Linked DNA regions of Homo sapiens: all the other regions are linked to region 3. The links are contacts of gene promoters, found by promoter capture Hi-C in blood cells and fetal thymus (Javierre and others, 2016). All regions are on one chromosome and are shown on one strand. Each heading gives the region's core, a stretch centred on a gene start or on the middle of the fragment in contact. The rest is flanking DNA. Distances are from core to core; before and after follow the strand shown. Region 1 has its middle 100 kb from the start of CAAP1. Region 2 overlaps IFT74 (intraflagellar transport 74). Region 3 holds the start of EQTN (equatorin). Region 4 overlaps C9orf72 (C9orf72-SMCR8 complex subunit). Region 5 overlaps LOC124902135.

What was found. Contacts are between HindIII fragments. The CHiCAGO score rates a contact against its expected background, and 5 or more counts as called.
Region 1: a fragment that was not itself captured here is called in contact with the fragment with the promoter of EQTN in region 3 in 1 of 17 cell types (endothelial precursors); the score reaches 5.6 in endothelial precursors.
Region 2: a fragment that was not itself captured here is called in contact with the fragment with the promoter of EQTN in region 3 in 1 of 17 cell types (megakaryocytes); the score reaches 5.4 in megakaryocytes.
Region 4: a contact is called between a fragment that was not itself captured here and the fragment with the promoter of EQTN in region 3, in 1 of 17 cell types (total B cells). The highest score is 5.7, in total B cells.
Region 5: a contact is called between a fragment that was not itself captured here and the fragment with the promoter of EQTN in region 3, in 1 of 17 cell types (naive B cells). The highest score is 5.1, in naive B cells.

What each region holds. Positions count from the first base shown.
Region 1 is chr9:26,787,124-26,789,823 of GRCh38, reverse strand. No RefSeq gene overlaps it. Among named protein-coding and RNA genes, the nearest start is that of CAAP1, 100 kb to the left of the region's middle. The HindIII fragment of the contact is 788 bases long and covers 1,000-1,787 here.
Region 2 is chr9:27,025,017-27,027,716 of GRCh38, reverse strand. The region is part of intron 12 of IFT74 (intraflagellar transport 74); the gene reads right to left. Among named protein-coding and RNA genes, the nearest start is that of LRRC19, 21 kb to the right of the region's middle. The HindIII fragment of the contact is 1,434 bases long and covers 546-1,979 here.
Region 3 is chr9:27,295,881-27,298,580 of GRCh38, reverse strand. It overlaps EQTN (equatorin), which reads left to right and starts at 1,431. Exons shown (of 8, transcript NM_020641.3): 1 at 1,431-1,601; 2 at 1,843-1,968. The coding sequence starts at 1,526. The HindIII fragment of the contact is 8,347 bases long and covers 1-2,700 here.
Region 4 is chr9:27,556,054-27,558,753 of GRCh38, reverse strand. It overlaps C9orf72 (C9orf72-SMCR8 complex subunit), which reads left to right. Exons shown (of 11, transcript NM_018325.5): 7 at 147-263; 8 at 1,958-2,193. Among named protein-coding and RNA genes, the nearest start is that of C9orf72, 16 kb to the left of the region's middle. The HindIII fragment of the contact is 1,343 bases long and covers 631-1,973 here.
Region 5 is chr9:27,716,419-27,719,118 of GRCh38, reverse strand. The region is part of intron 1 of LOC124902135; the gene reads right to left. Among named protein-coding and RNA genes, the nearest start is that of C9orf72, 140 kb to the right of the region's middle. The HindIII fragment of the contact is 1,654 bases long and covers 599-2,252 here.

The DNA of each region.
Region 1 (2,700 bases), core at 144-2,643, 510 kb after region 3:
TTTTTTTTTTTTTTTTTTTTTTTTTTAAAGACAAAGTCTTACTATGTTACCCAGGCTGGAGTGCAGTGGTGCCATCTTGGTTTATTGCAGCCTCAACCTCCTAGGCTCAAGCAATCCTCCCACCTCAGCCTCTTGAGTAGCTGGGACTACAGGTGCATGCTAATTTTTATATTTTCTGTGGAGATCGGGTCTTGCCGTGTTACCCAGGCTGGTCTCGAACTCCTGGGCTCAAGTGATCTGCCCATCTCAGCCTCCCAAAATGCTGGGACTACTGGAGTGAGCCACCGCACCCAGCCTGAGCTCCATTCTCTTTAATTCCATGTCACATTGAATATTACAAAGTGCATAATATTCTTCACTGTATTGCAGGCTTCTTGACAACAGTGTCTATGCCATTTGTTTTTATGTGCCTGACATATAGTAGGTGCTGATAGAACATTTGCAGAACAAATGTTCATTGCATTCTCTTTTGTTACATGCAACAAAATAATTTGAAGTCAGTAAGGGGCGTCTGATATGAAAGATATTGGTGAAAAGAATAAGTGCTTATACTTTATGCTTTAAGACACAGAGAGCTTCGTTTGTTTAATAAATGTGGGTAAAAATAATTGACATGGTGATGATAATGGGACATCCACCTTGGAGGCAGCATAACGAGGCACAAGAGCACTGGTTTCAGGGTAAGCCAGAATTCTAGGCATAGCTGTGCCATACAACCTTGCCGTGGTACCCAGGGCCCTCCCCTTTCTGAAGTTTATTTTCTCATCTTGTAGAATGGGGAGACAGGATGAGATCATCTTACATGAATTTCAGTTCATTTAAGCTCTGAAACTGTATCATCTATCGTAGCTCCAAGTAGGGATTGCCTCTCACTGCCAAAAAGCCCCAACCCCTCAGCCACATATGTAGGTACCCAAACAGTCCTTGTACCCTAAATCCTTTTCTCCTTTCATGCTTATCTCCCTCTTCCTCTGATCCTGTAGGTTTTGCCTTGAAGCTTCAGAGTAGTTTGAACTCAGTTTTTCCTACAGGTTGGTTTTATTTACCTCCTCACTGCCTGCCTGTGATCCCTGCATGTCCCTCATACAAGTCTTAGCCCCTCTCCAGCCAACCCGTACTTCCAACTGGCCTTGATAAGATTTGAATTCCTCATTATACTTTTCCCTATCTTCATTTTGTGTGTGTGTGAAAGCTATATTGCCATAAAAGTCTGCAGGAATTTGACCATCAGCTCACATCTCTGTTTTCTATTTTCTCAGAACTCTCCCACCTTTAATATGATAATAGTAATAAGTACTGTTTATTGAGGGTTTACTATGTGCCGAATATTGTGATGCCAAGATGGTTGTCCTATCACCCGCTTACTGTTACCACATCAATCACATCTCTAAGGACTTACATCTCTAATCCTTGTACCATTCCTGAAGGGTGGCTATATCAGTTGTTGAGATGGAGAAAGAAGAAACTGACTGTACGATTGTTTAAATAACTTGCCAAGAGTGTCTGACTCCAAAGCCAATGCTATTTCCAAAGCAAATGTAACGCTGTCTTGCTACATTTCAGCATATGTAGATCTAGATCAATTTTTTGTTGTTTTATGTCAGCATTCATTTTGTTTCAGAAACAATATCATAGTACCAGTAAGAAAACCCACACTTTAAAGACATATCAACTTACTGTTTTTCTTATTTACTCTTCTACTCTTTGTTTATATTCATACATATTTTAAAGAGTATGATTCTAATGTAGATTTAGTCTTTATTCTAAAAATAACAACTCTGTAAGCTTTTTCTTTGTTGTCCTCCTCCTTTCTGTCATTTTAATGGCTGCATAATTTCCATCAGATTGGTTTAATCATAGTTTTATTTTTTTGTTTTTTGGGTTTTTTGTTTTTGTTTTCTATGATGGAGTTTCTTTCTTGTTGCCCAGGCTGGAGTGCAATGACACAATCTCGGCCCACTGCAACCTCCGCCTCCCGAGTTCAAGCGATTCTCCTGCCTCAGTCTCCCAAGTAGCTGGGATTACAGGAACCCGCCACCAGGTCCAGCTAATTTTTGTATTTTTAGTAGAGACAGGGTTTCACCATGTTGGCCAAGCTGGTCTTGAACTCCTGACCTCAGGTGATTCGCCTGCCTCAGCCTCCCAAAATGCTGGGATTACAGGCATGAGCCACCACACCCAGCCAGTTTATCATATTTTTAAATAAGTTTTTGCTACTGTAAAACATTTAGATTATTTCCATTTTATACTGAGATAAATTATGTTATAGTAATGATATTTATGCACTTTAAAAAGATTAATGGTTAATATGTTGGCTTTTAAATAACTTTTTAATTGTGGAAATATTGAAATATTCTCAAGAGACTGGAAGGAAACTATATGTACCTGTAACTCAGTTTCAACAATGATCAACATTTTCCCATCTTGTTTCATTGAATCCCCTACTTTTTTTTGAAAACATTAAAGAAAATTTCAAATTTCTTGAAATTTCACTTTTAAATACTTCAGAATAGACTTGTAATGGATAAGGACTTTCTCCTAAAGTCATCTCATACTCTGTGATCTCCCTGTACTCTCTAGGTTCAAATTTCCTGATCATCACTAGACCTTTTTCACATTTGGTTTGTGTAAATTAGGATCTAAATATGGTCCACACATTGCAGTCAGCTGTTATGTCATTAAAGTTTCATTCATTCTAAA
Region 2 (2,700 bases), core at 13-2,512, 270 kb after region 3:
TCTGATGACACCTCTATCTAGCATATATAAGGAAATGTTACAACTCAGTAATCAAAAACAATCTAGTTTAAAAAATGAGCAAATGAACTAAGTAAACATTTCCCCCAAAGAATATGGCCAATAAGCATATGAAAGGAACCTCAACATCATTAGCCATCAAACAAATACAAATCAAAACCATAGTGAGACACCGCTTCATACCCATTAGGAATGGCTATAATAGAAAAAGAGATAATAACAAGTGAGGATGTGAAAAACTGGAACCCTCACATGCTGCTCATATGCTGCTCTTATTATATTACATAGAAATGTAAAACAGTACCAATTCTTTGAAAGTCTGATAGAATTCAGCTGTGGCTCCATCTGGTCCTGGACTTTTTGTTGGCAATTTTTTTTTTTTAACCATTTCAATCTCACTGCTCGTTAATGGTCTGTTCAGAGTTTCTATTTCTTCCTACTTTAATCTAGGATTGTATATTTCCAGGAATCTATCCGTCTCCTCTAAGTTTTCTAGTTTGTGCGTGTAAAGGTGCTCACTGTAAGCTTGGTCTTTTGTATTTCTGTGGTATTGGTTGTAGTATCTCCCATTTTGTTTCTAATTGAGCTTATTTGGATCTTTTCTCTTCTTTTCTTGATTAATCTTGCTATTGGTCTATCAATTTTGTTTATCTTTTCAAAGAACCAGCTTTTTGCTTCATTTATCTTTCAATTTTTTGTTTCAATTTAATTTAGTTCTGCTCTGATGTTTGTAATTTCCTTTTCTTTTGGTGGGTTTGGGTTTTGTTTGTGCTTGTTGCTCTAGTTCCTTGAGGTGTAACGTTAGATTGTCTATTTGTGTTCTTTCAGACTTTTTGATGTAGGCACTTAATGCTCTGAATGTTCCTCTAGGCACTGCTTTTGCTGTATCCCAGAGGTTTTAATAGGTTGTGTCATTATTATTGTTCAGTTCAAAGAATTTTTAAATTTCCATCTTGATTTCATTGTTGACCTAAAGATCATTCAGGAGCAAATTATTTAATTTCCATGTATCTGCATGGTTTTTAAGGTTCCTTTTGGAGTTGATTTCCAGTTTTATTCCACTGTGGTCTGAGAATACTTGATATAATTTTGATTTTCTTAAATTTATTGAGACTTGTTTTGTGGCCTATCATATGGTCTGTCTTGCAGGACGTCCCATGTGCTGATGAACAGAATGTATATTCTGCAGTTGTTGGGTAGAATGTTCTATAAATATCTGTTGAGTCCATTTGTTCTAGGGTATAATTTAAATCCATTGTTTCTTTGTTGACTTTCTGACCCGTCTAGTGCTGTCAATGGAGTATTGAAGTCCCCCACTATTAATTGTATTGCTGTCTATCTCATTTGTTAGGTCTAGTGGTAATTGTTTTTTACATTTGGGAGCTCTAGTGTTAGGTGCATATAGATTTAGTACTGTGATATTTTCCTGTTTGATTAGTCCTTTTATCATTACATAATGTCCTTCTTTGTCTTTTTCAATTGTTGTTAAAGTCTGTTTTGTCTAATATAAGAATAGCTACTCCTACTTGCTTTTGGGACCATTTGCATGGAATAACTTTTTCCACCCTTTTACCTTAAGTTTATGTGAGACCTTATGCATTAGGTGAGTCACTTGAAGATGGGAGATACTTGGTTGGTGAATTCTTATCCATTCCGTTATTCTGTATATTTAAGTGGAGCATTTGGGCTGTTTATATTCAATGTTAGTATTGAGATATGTGGTATTGTTCTATTCATTGTGCTAGTTATTGCCTGAATACCTTAGTTTTTCATTTCCATTGTGTTGTTTTATAGGCCCTGTGAGATTTATGATTTAAGGAGTTTCTACTTTGGTGTATTTTGAGGTTTTGTTTCAAGATTTAGAACTCCCTTTAACTGCTCTTGTAGTGCTGCCTTGGTAGTGGTGAATTCTCTCAGCATTTCTCTGAAAATGACTTTATCTTTGCTTCATTTATGAAGCTTAGTTTCAATGGATACAAAATTCTTGGCTGATAATTATTTTAAGGAGTCTAAAGGTAGGACTCCAATTCCTTCTAGCTTGTAGGGTTTCTGCTAAGAAATCTGCTATTGATCTGATAGGTTTTCCTTTATAGGTTACCTGATGCTTTTGCCTCATAGCTCTTAAGATTCTTTCCTCTGTCTTGACTTTAGATAATCTTATGACTATGCCTAAGTGATGATCTTTTTGTGATGCATTTCCCAGTTGTAATCTTTGACATTCTTTCTTTTCTTTTCTTTTTTTTTTTTTTTTTTTTGGAGATGGAGTCTCACTCTGTCACCCAGGATGGAATGCAGTGGCATGATCTTAGCTCACTGCAACCTCCACCTCCCAGGTTCAAGTGATTTTTCTGCCTTAGCCTCCCAAGTTGCTGGGACTACAGGTGCGTGCCACCATGCCCAGCGGATTTTTGTATTTTTAGTAGAGACAAGGTTTTACCTTATTGGCCAGGCTGCTCTTGAACTCCTGACCTCATGTTCCGCCCACCTCGGCCTCCCAAAGTGCTGGGATTACAGGTGTGAGCCACCGTGCTCAGCCATGACATTCTTATATTTGGATGTCTACATCTCTAGCAAGGCCAGGGAAGTTTTCCTTGATTATTCCCTCAAATACATTTTCCAAACTTACAGGTTTGTCTTCTTCCTCAGGAACACCCATTATTCTTAGGTTTGGCCATTTAACAG
Region 3 (2,700 bases), core at 182-2,681:
TATGTTGGGTTCAATATACACTACCGGGTGATGGGCAGACTAAAATCTCAGCTTTCACCACTATACAATTCATCAATGCAACCAAGAACCACTTGGACCCCAAAAGCCATATGAAATATAAATACATATAAGACCTATATTTTATATATTATATAATTATATATTTTATAAAATATATAATATATTTATATAACTAATATATAATATGTTATTATTAATTATTTATATAATATAGGCCTTAAAATCTAAAAATGACCAGTTTTAGAGAACTTTTCTAAAGAATTATAGTTAAGATAATCCATTAACCAGAACTTGTAGACTTGTAGGGCATTTGGCATCAGAACTTGGTTTTTCTGCCTAGTTGTTTTTTTTGTTTTGTTTTTTGTTTTTTGTTTTTTTTTTTGGAGACAGAGACTCACTTCTTCACCCAGGCTGGAGTGCAGTGGTGTGATCTCGGCTCGCTGCAAACTCTGCCTCCCATGTTCAAGCACGTGGGCCACCACGCCTGGCTAACTTTTGTATTTTTAGTAGAGATGAGGTTTCACCATGTTGCCCAGGGTGGTCTTGAACTCCTGACCTCAAGTGATCTGCCCACCTCAGCCTCCCAAAGTGCTGGGATTACAGGTGTGAGCCACTGCGTCCAGCCTCTGACTAGTTTTTAAAAGATATTTTTATTGCATTTATCCAAGAAAACACATCATATTGCAATGCTTTGAGAAACAAAAAGATCTGTTCTCATTTTACTCTTAACAATATTAATGGTTGCAGGGAGCCGAAGGCTCGTGGGACGTGAGCCACTCAGCATTCCACTGGAGGCTATATGATCAAACAGCAAACTGTTTATTATGAATGCAGGATGTGGGCAAACTCACGACTGCTCCTGCCCACAGAAGGTTTGCTGGAGGCAATCACTCCCTGGCACCGAGGTTATCTACTGCGACATCTAGAGAATGCAGTGTTGCATGCCTACTCTGGACCGGGCAGCTGACCCCTTCTTCCATCCTCCTTCTCACTATCTCTCTTGCCTAATAAATACAGAGGGCTGTGTAAAGCTCAGGGCCCTTGCCCACTAGAGGCAAGGTGCCCCCGACCCCTTCTTCCAAATATACTCTTTTGTCTTTGTCTTTTATTCCCGCATTCGTCCCCCTTTGTTCAGTCCCCTAGGTCCGTGCGGGTTACAAGTGGCACCCTGACTAGCCACAGAATCGAGTGCTCTACAAATGGTTCTTTAAAATCCAGAGCCGAGTAATTAACATTCTTTTATGAAAACACACTTATTAACTTTCAAAGAAAATCTTGTAATGGTTTATTTAAAAAATAACTAAAAACCATTATAGTACCTGAGATAAAGCAGTCTTCAGACTGAGTCACAAAGCTGTTGGGAACCCCCACCCCCACCAACATTCTGATGCCCATCTGACAGTGATGTCATAATGTCCTAGTTAGACACAGGACCTGCTGGGCCACAGAAAGGAGGCTCTGGGTAGACGCACTAGATTACTGGATAAATCACTTCAATTTCCCAATGAATTTTATATTGTTTATTTTTATACCTGGAGTTTTTTCCTTAAAAAGTAGCACTTTGAAGCCTACTATTGAAGGTGAGAGAGCATTTAAAACTTTTATAAAAATAGTAGGTAAGAAGGATGACCCATAATCATGAAAAATTGGTATGTGGCAGTTTTCTACAGGAGGATATAAACTTTATTGTTGGAGCTATGGTATGTTTTAGATTTTAAATCTCTGCCTCTAATCCTTTGTGAAAAAAATGCAGTTAGAAAAAGAAAGCAGTAAAAGAAATCAACATATTTCTGATCTATGGTGTGTGATACTTTTTTTTAGCATTGCCTAATGTGCTACCTTTAAATGAAGATGTTAATAAGCAGGAAGAAAAGAATGAAGATCATACTCCCAATTATGCTCCTGCTAATGAGAAAAATGGCAATTATTATAAAGATATAAAACAATGTAAGTCTTTAAAGTGAATAGAAATGTATATGCAAAAGTTGATTATCCTGGTTTCACTTAAGTGTCCTTTTTAAATTTCCATCATTTCCCCCTGTATTTGTTGGGTATTTTATTTCTACTTCTGTGACCTGCCTGTTCATACCCTTGCCCATTTTTCCATTAGGTTGTATTTTCATTTCTTTTTAAGGGCTCTTTTTATGTAGAATATATTAATCCTTTTTACGGTAAAAGTAATAAATGTTTTCTGCCAAGATGCTGCTTATCTTTAAGGCTTATTTTATTTTATTGTATCGTATTCAGTTTTTGAGACAGAGTCTTGCTCTGTCACCCAGGCTGGAGTGCAGTGGCACGACCATGGCTCACTGCAGCCAGCCTTGACCTCCCAGGGTTCAAGCAGTCCTACCACCTCAGCCTTCCGAGTAGCTGGAACTATAGGCACATGCCATCACACCAAGCTAATTTTTGTATTTTTTTTGTAGAAACGGTGTTTCATCATGTTGCCCAGGCTGGTCTCCAACTCCTGGGCTCAAGCGATTCACCCATCTCACCCTCCCAAAGTGCTAGGATTACAGGTGCGAGCCACCACACCTGGCCAAGCCTGTTTAAGTATCTTTAATAACTGAGAAGATTTCAAGTTTTATAATATCAGTTCTGTTTATTTATTTCTTTATAATCTCTGCATTTTGTGTCTTGCCTAAGCAGGCTTTATCCAGTCCAAAATATTGTTTTCTT
Region 4 (2,700 bases), core at 53-2,552, 260 kb before region 3:
TCCCATGGATTCCAGGTGACTAAAGAATACTTATTTCTTAGGATATGTTTTATTGATAATAACAATTAAAATTTCAGATATCTTTCATAAGCAAATCAGTGGTCTTTTTACTTCATGTTTTAATGCTAAAATATTTTCTTTTATAGATAGTCAGAACATTATGCCTTTTTCTGACTCCAGCAGAGAGAAAATGCTCCAGGTTATGTGAAGCAGAATCATCATTTAAATATGAGTCAGGGCTCTTTGTACAAGGCCTGCTAAAGGTATAGTTTCTAGTTATCACAAGTGAAACCACTTTTCTAAAATCATTTTTGAGACTCTTTATAGACAAATCTTAAATATTAGCATTTAATGTATCTCATATTGACATGCCCAGAGACTGACTTCCTTTACACAGTTCTGCACATAGACTATATGTCTTATGGATTTATAGTTAGTATCATCAGTGAAACACCATAGAATACCCTTTGTGTTCCAGGTGGGTCCCTGTTCCTACATGTCTAGCCTCAGGACTTTTTTTTTTTTAACACATGCTTAAATCAGGTTGCACATCAAAAATAAGATCATTTCTTTTTAACTAAATAGATTTGAATTTTATTGAAAAAAAATTTTAAACATCTTTAAGAAGCTTATAGGATTTAAGCAATTCCTATGTATGTGTACTAAAATATATATATTTCTATATATAATATATATTAGAAAAAAATTGTATTTTTCTTTTATTTGAGTCTACTGTCAAGGAGCAAAACAGAGAAATGTAAATTAGCAATTATTTATAATACTTAAAGGGAAGAAAGTTGTTCACCTTGTTGAATCTATTATTGTTATTTCAATTATAGTCCCAAGACGTGAAGAAATAGCTTTCCTAATGGTTATGTGATTGTCTCATAGTGACTACTTTCTTGAGGATGTAGCCACGGCAAAATGAAATAAAAAAATTTAAAAATTGTTGCAAATACAAGTTATATTAGGCTTTTGTGCATTTTCAATAATGTGCTGCTATGAACTCAGAATGATAGTATTTAAATATAGAAACTAGTTAAAGGAAACGTAGTTTCTATTTGAGTTATACATATCTGTAAATTAGAACTTCTCCTGTTAAAGGCATAATAAAGTGCTTAATACTTTTGTTTCCTCAGCACCCTCTCATTTAATTATATAATTTTAGTTCTGAAAGGGACCTATACCAGATGCCTAGAGGAAATTTCAAAACTATGATCTAATGAAAAAATATTTAATAGTTCTCCATGCAAATACAAATCATATAGTTTTCCAGAAAATACCTTTGACATTATACAAAGATGATTATCACAGCATTATAATAGTAAAAAAATGGAAATAGCCTCTTTCTTCTGTTCTGTTCATAGCACAGTGCCTCATACGCAGTAGGTTATTATTACATGGTAACTGGCTACCCCAACTGATTAGGAAAGAAGTAAATTTGTTTTATAAAAATACATACTCATTGAGGTGCATAGAATAATTAAGAAATTAAAAGACACTTGTAATTTTGAATCCAGTGAATACCCACTGTTAATATTTGGTATATCTCTTTCTAGTCTTTTTTTCCCTTTTGCATGTATTTTCTTTAAGACTCCCACCCCCACTGGATCATCTCTGCATGTTCTAATCTGCTTTTTTCACAGCAGATTCTAAGCCTCTTTGAATATCAACACAAACTTCAACAACTTCATCTATAGATGCCAAATAATAAATTCATTTTTATTTACTTAACCACTTCCTTTGGATGCTTAGGTCATTCTGATGTTTTGCTATTGAAACCAATGCTATACTGAACACTTCTGTCACTAAAACTTTGCACACACTCATGAATAGCTTCTTAGGATAAATTTTTAGAGATGGATTTGCTAAATCAGAGACCATTTTTTAAAATTAAAAAACAATTATTCATATCGTTTGGCATGTAAGACAGTAAATTTTCCTTTTATTTTGACAGGATTCAACTGGAAGCTTTGTGCTGCCTTTCCGGCAAGTCATGTATGCTCCATATCCCACCACACACATAGATGTGGATGTCAATACTGTGAAGCAGATGCCACCCTGTCATGAACATATTTATAATCAGCGTAGATACATGAGATCCGAGCTGACAGCCTTCTGGAGAGCCACTTCAGAAGAAGACATGGCTCAGGATACGATCATCTACACTGACGAAAGCTTTACTCCTGATTTGTACGTAATGCTCTGCCTGCTGGTACTGTAGTCAAGCAATATGAAATTGTGTCTTTTACGAATAAAAACAAAACAGAAGTTGCATTTAAAAAGAAAGAAATATTACCAGCAGAATTATGCTTGAAGAAACATTTAATCAAGCATTTTTTTCTTAAATGTTCTTCTTTTTCCATACAATTGTGTTTACCCTAAAATAGGTAAGATTAACCCTTAAAGTAAATATTTAACTATTTGTTTAATAAATATATATTGAGCTCCTAGGCACTGTTCTAGGTACCGGGCTTAATAGTGGCCAACCAGACAGCCCCAGCCCCAGCCCCTACATTGTGTATAGTCTATTATGTAACAGTTATTGAATGGACTTATTAACAAAACCAAAGAAGTAATTCTAAGTCTTTTTTTTCTTGACATATGAATATAAAATACAGCAAAACTGTTAAAATATATTAATGGAACATTTTTTTACTTTGCATTTTATATTGTTATTCACTTCTTATTTTTTTTTAA
Region 5 (2,700 bases), core at 176-2,675, 420 kb before region 3:
GAATTCAGGATGAGAATTTTTACCCAAGTCTACCTCAGGCTGAAGCATGTGTTTTTTCCTCTGCATGACACTTGCACTGGTGTCGCAGTACTTACCCACGTGCCCTATCCACTCAACAAACATCTCATGACCAACCATTCTTATGTCACATTATAGAGTGACCAGCTATCCTAGCTTGCCCAGCACTGAGAGGTTTACCACGATGCCAGACTTGCAGTGCTAAAACTAGGAAAATCCCAGGCAAAATGGGATGAATTGGTTATCCTAACCAACCTGTGAAGAGGTCTGGGTGTGCAAACCTGGAGTGCAGGAGACATATGGAGCTATAAAGTGAGATCCTAAATGCAAAACTTTCTCTGAAAGTCACTTTATTTCACTTCTTGAGCACAATCCCATGCCCTCTATCCTAAGTGTGCCTAAACCCAAATGTGGTCTGTCCATGCAAACTCTTAAAATAACCATGCCTGATACTCTATATTACACTCCCACCTGTCAGCTGGGAATCTGCCAGAACCTGGGTAGCAGGTTTTCCCAGTCATCTGCAGGTCTGCATCATCCAATCTAATACCCTGCCTGAGATAGAGGAGGAATTGAAGCTTAACGATGCATCCTTTAACTAACTTTGCTCTTTGATCCACCTAATACCTAAATCTCTTGAGAACAAATTAAGACTTTATGAAGTCTTGAGTTGTTGTTGCTTTGTTATTGGCCTCTAATTCCAAACCCAGTAAATCTCTTATCAGCCTAATGGCAATATCTCAACTCTGGTACATGGTTCTTGATCTTCTCTTGTAACTTTACAAGTCTACATGCTGCTGACAATACAAATAGGGAAGGCTGTTGACTGAGGGAACACTTAATCTAAAATTTATATTCTGAAGTATGTGAAACCTGATCCTGGTCTCTGTTTCTCACTCAGAGTTGACCACAGGGTTCAAGTGGGCTGGACAATGGGGCCTCCAGCTGTGGTAAACTACAAAACCAGCATCTCCCACTGATCCAGGCCCATGTTGGGTTCCAGGAGCAGCATCTCCAAGCATCTAAATCTCTTGGACACTTTTTATCAGGAGGAAATCTAAACGTTTACAGTGCCAAAACCAAGATACATTATTTGGCCGGAATACTGAGCATCCAGATGGATGCAAACCAAAAACTCTGCCTACCAGATGACCCCCTCTGGGAGTCAAGAGTCTGTTTTGGAGTGGTCTTATGCTGAGATTTAGCCTGTTCAAAATAAAATGAGATGCAGCAGCCATACAGGGCCTTTGCCATGCACTATGGGTGATGGCTGCCTCCTGCATCAACTGACCTTTGCCAAGACTGTCACTTCCTTGTTTTAGCATCCCCAATAAATGCCACCTCTTTTCCTCATGCAAGCACTGAATAAACTGAAAAATAAAACAAAGGAATGACAGATTATGGTTAGATTGAAAGATGTAGCTTAGTGAGCAAGAATACGTATGCCTGAAAGTCAGACATCACATCAGGCAGATTTGCACACTTCTCCCAAGAGAACTGGAGAAGACTTCCTCTTGGCGGAAGAGTGGAGAATTAATATTTTCTGCAGCCTTCCAAAGAGAAGAGGGAAAAAAAGAGCAGGGCTACTTGCACACAGTTTGCTCTTCTTGAATTTGCCAATCGGATAAATCACTCTGATCTTCACTCACATCTTTATGAATGAGGAGGTTGAAGGGTAGGTAGGGGTTAGACTAATGGATTTTCCCCCACTTGAAGAAAACAACATATATGCCTATTAAGTCCAGCTCCAGGCAAGAAGTACTCTTGTTCCGCTAAGACAAGGACACACGAATCAGGATTTTCAGAAAAAAGTGAAGCTCAGTTGAGTGGTGAAAACTGCAAGTGCTCTAGGAAGAGAAGGGAGCAACGGGAAGGGATGATACGAACGGGGCAGGCTTCTGAGACAGGGAGACACCTCTGGCAGAAGGAGAGGAATGAGAATAATTTGGATAGCAAATAAAGGAAAGGACGATATTCCTGAAAAAGGAAAAAGCCAACCAGAATGGAGAAGTGCAGTGTGAAGGAGAGAGTGCACATTTCCGACTCATAGGGGTGAGAATCAGTGGAGTATGTAGTGTTTCCACTTATCAGAGAAGCTAATGGCCTCAAACTGAAAGCAATAGGGAGCCTTAGAGGTTCCTTGGCCAGAAGTAATAGGCTTAAACTGGGGTGAATGCATTTGGGAACCAAAATTACAACTAGTGAAAGCGTTTGGTTAAATGCATAATCAAGCTTTCTATCATACCTAGAGTTTTCATATCTATGCAAACCAAAATTGTGACTCCATTCTCTGTAAAAAACACAAAGTTGTTATGAAAAACACTTGTTACCAGACATTTGTATTTTCCAAGGAAATTAAAATTTCTGGCAAGACGAAGCTTTTAAACTTGCTTTGGTTGGTGGCACAAAGCCACTGTCGGTACATGGTGGGTGCTCTGTGTCCGCCAGAGGTGCCCGTGAGGAAGGTCCCTCTGGCTAAGTGCTAAAAGCAGCTCGGATGAGGAGAGGCAGGAGCAGAGACAGTCATCTGCCACACCTTTGAAGGTGCCCTCTGGGTACTGTGCTCTCAAAGATCCCTCAGGAGATGCTTCAGGGCTGCCCAAAATATCCCAGGCACGATTTACTGGGTCAAAAGTTTAGAGTACATCCTGAGGTTTGAAGCATTATTTAAATTCAACCTTC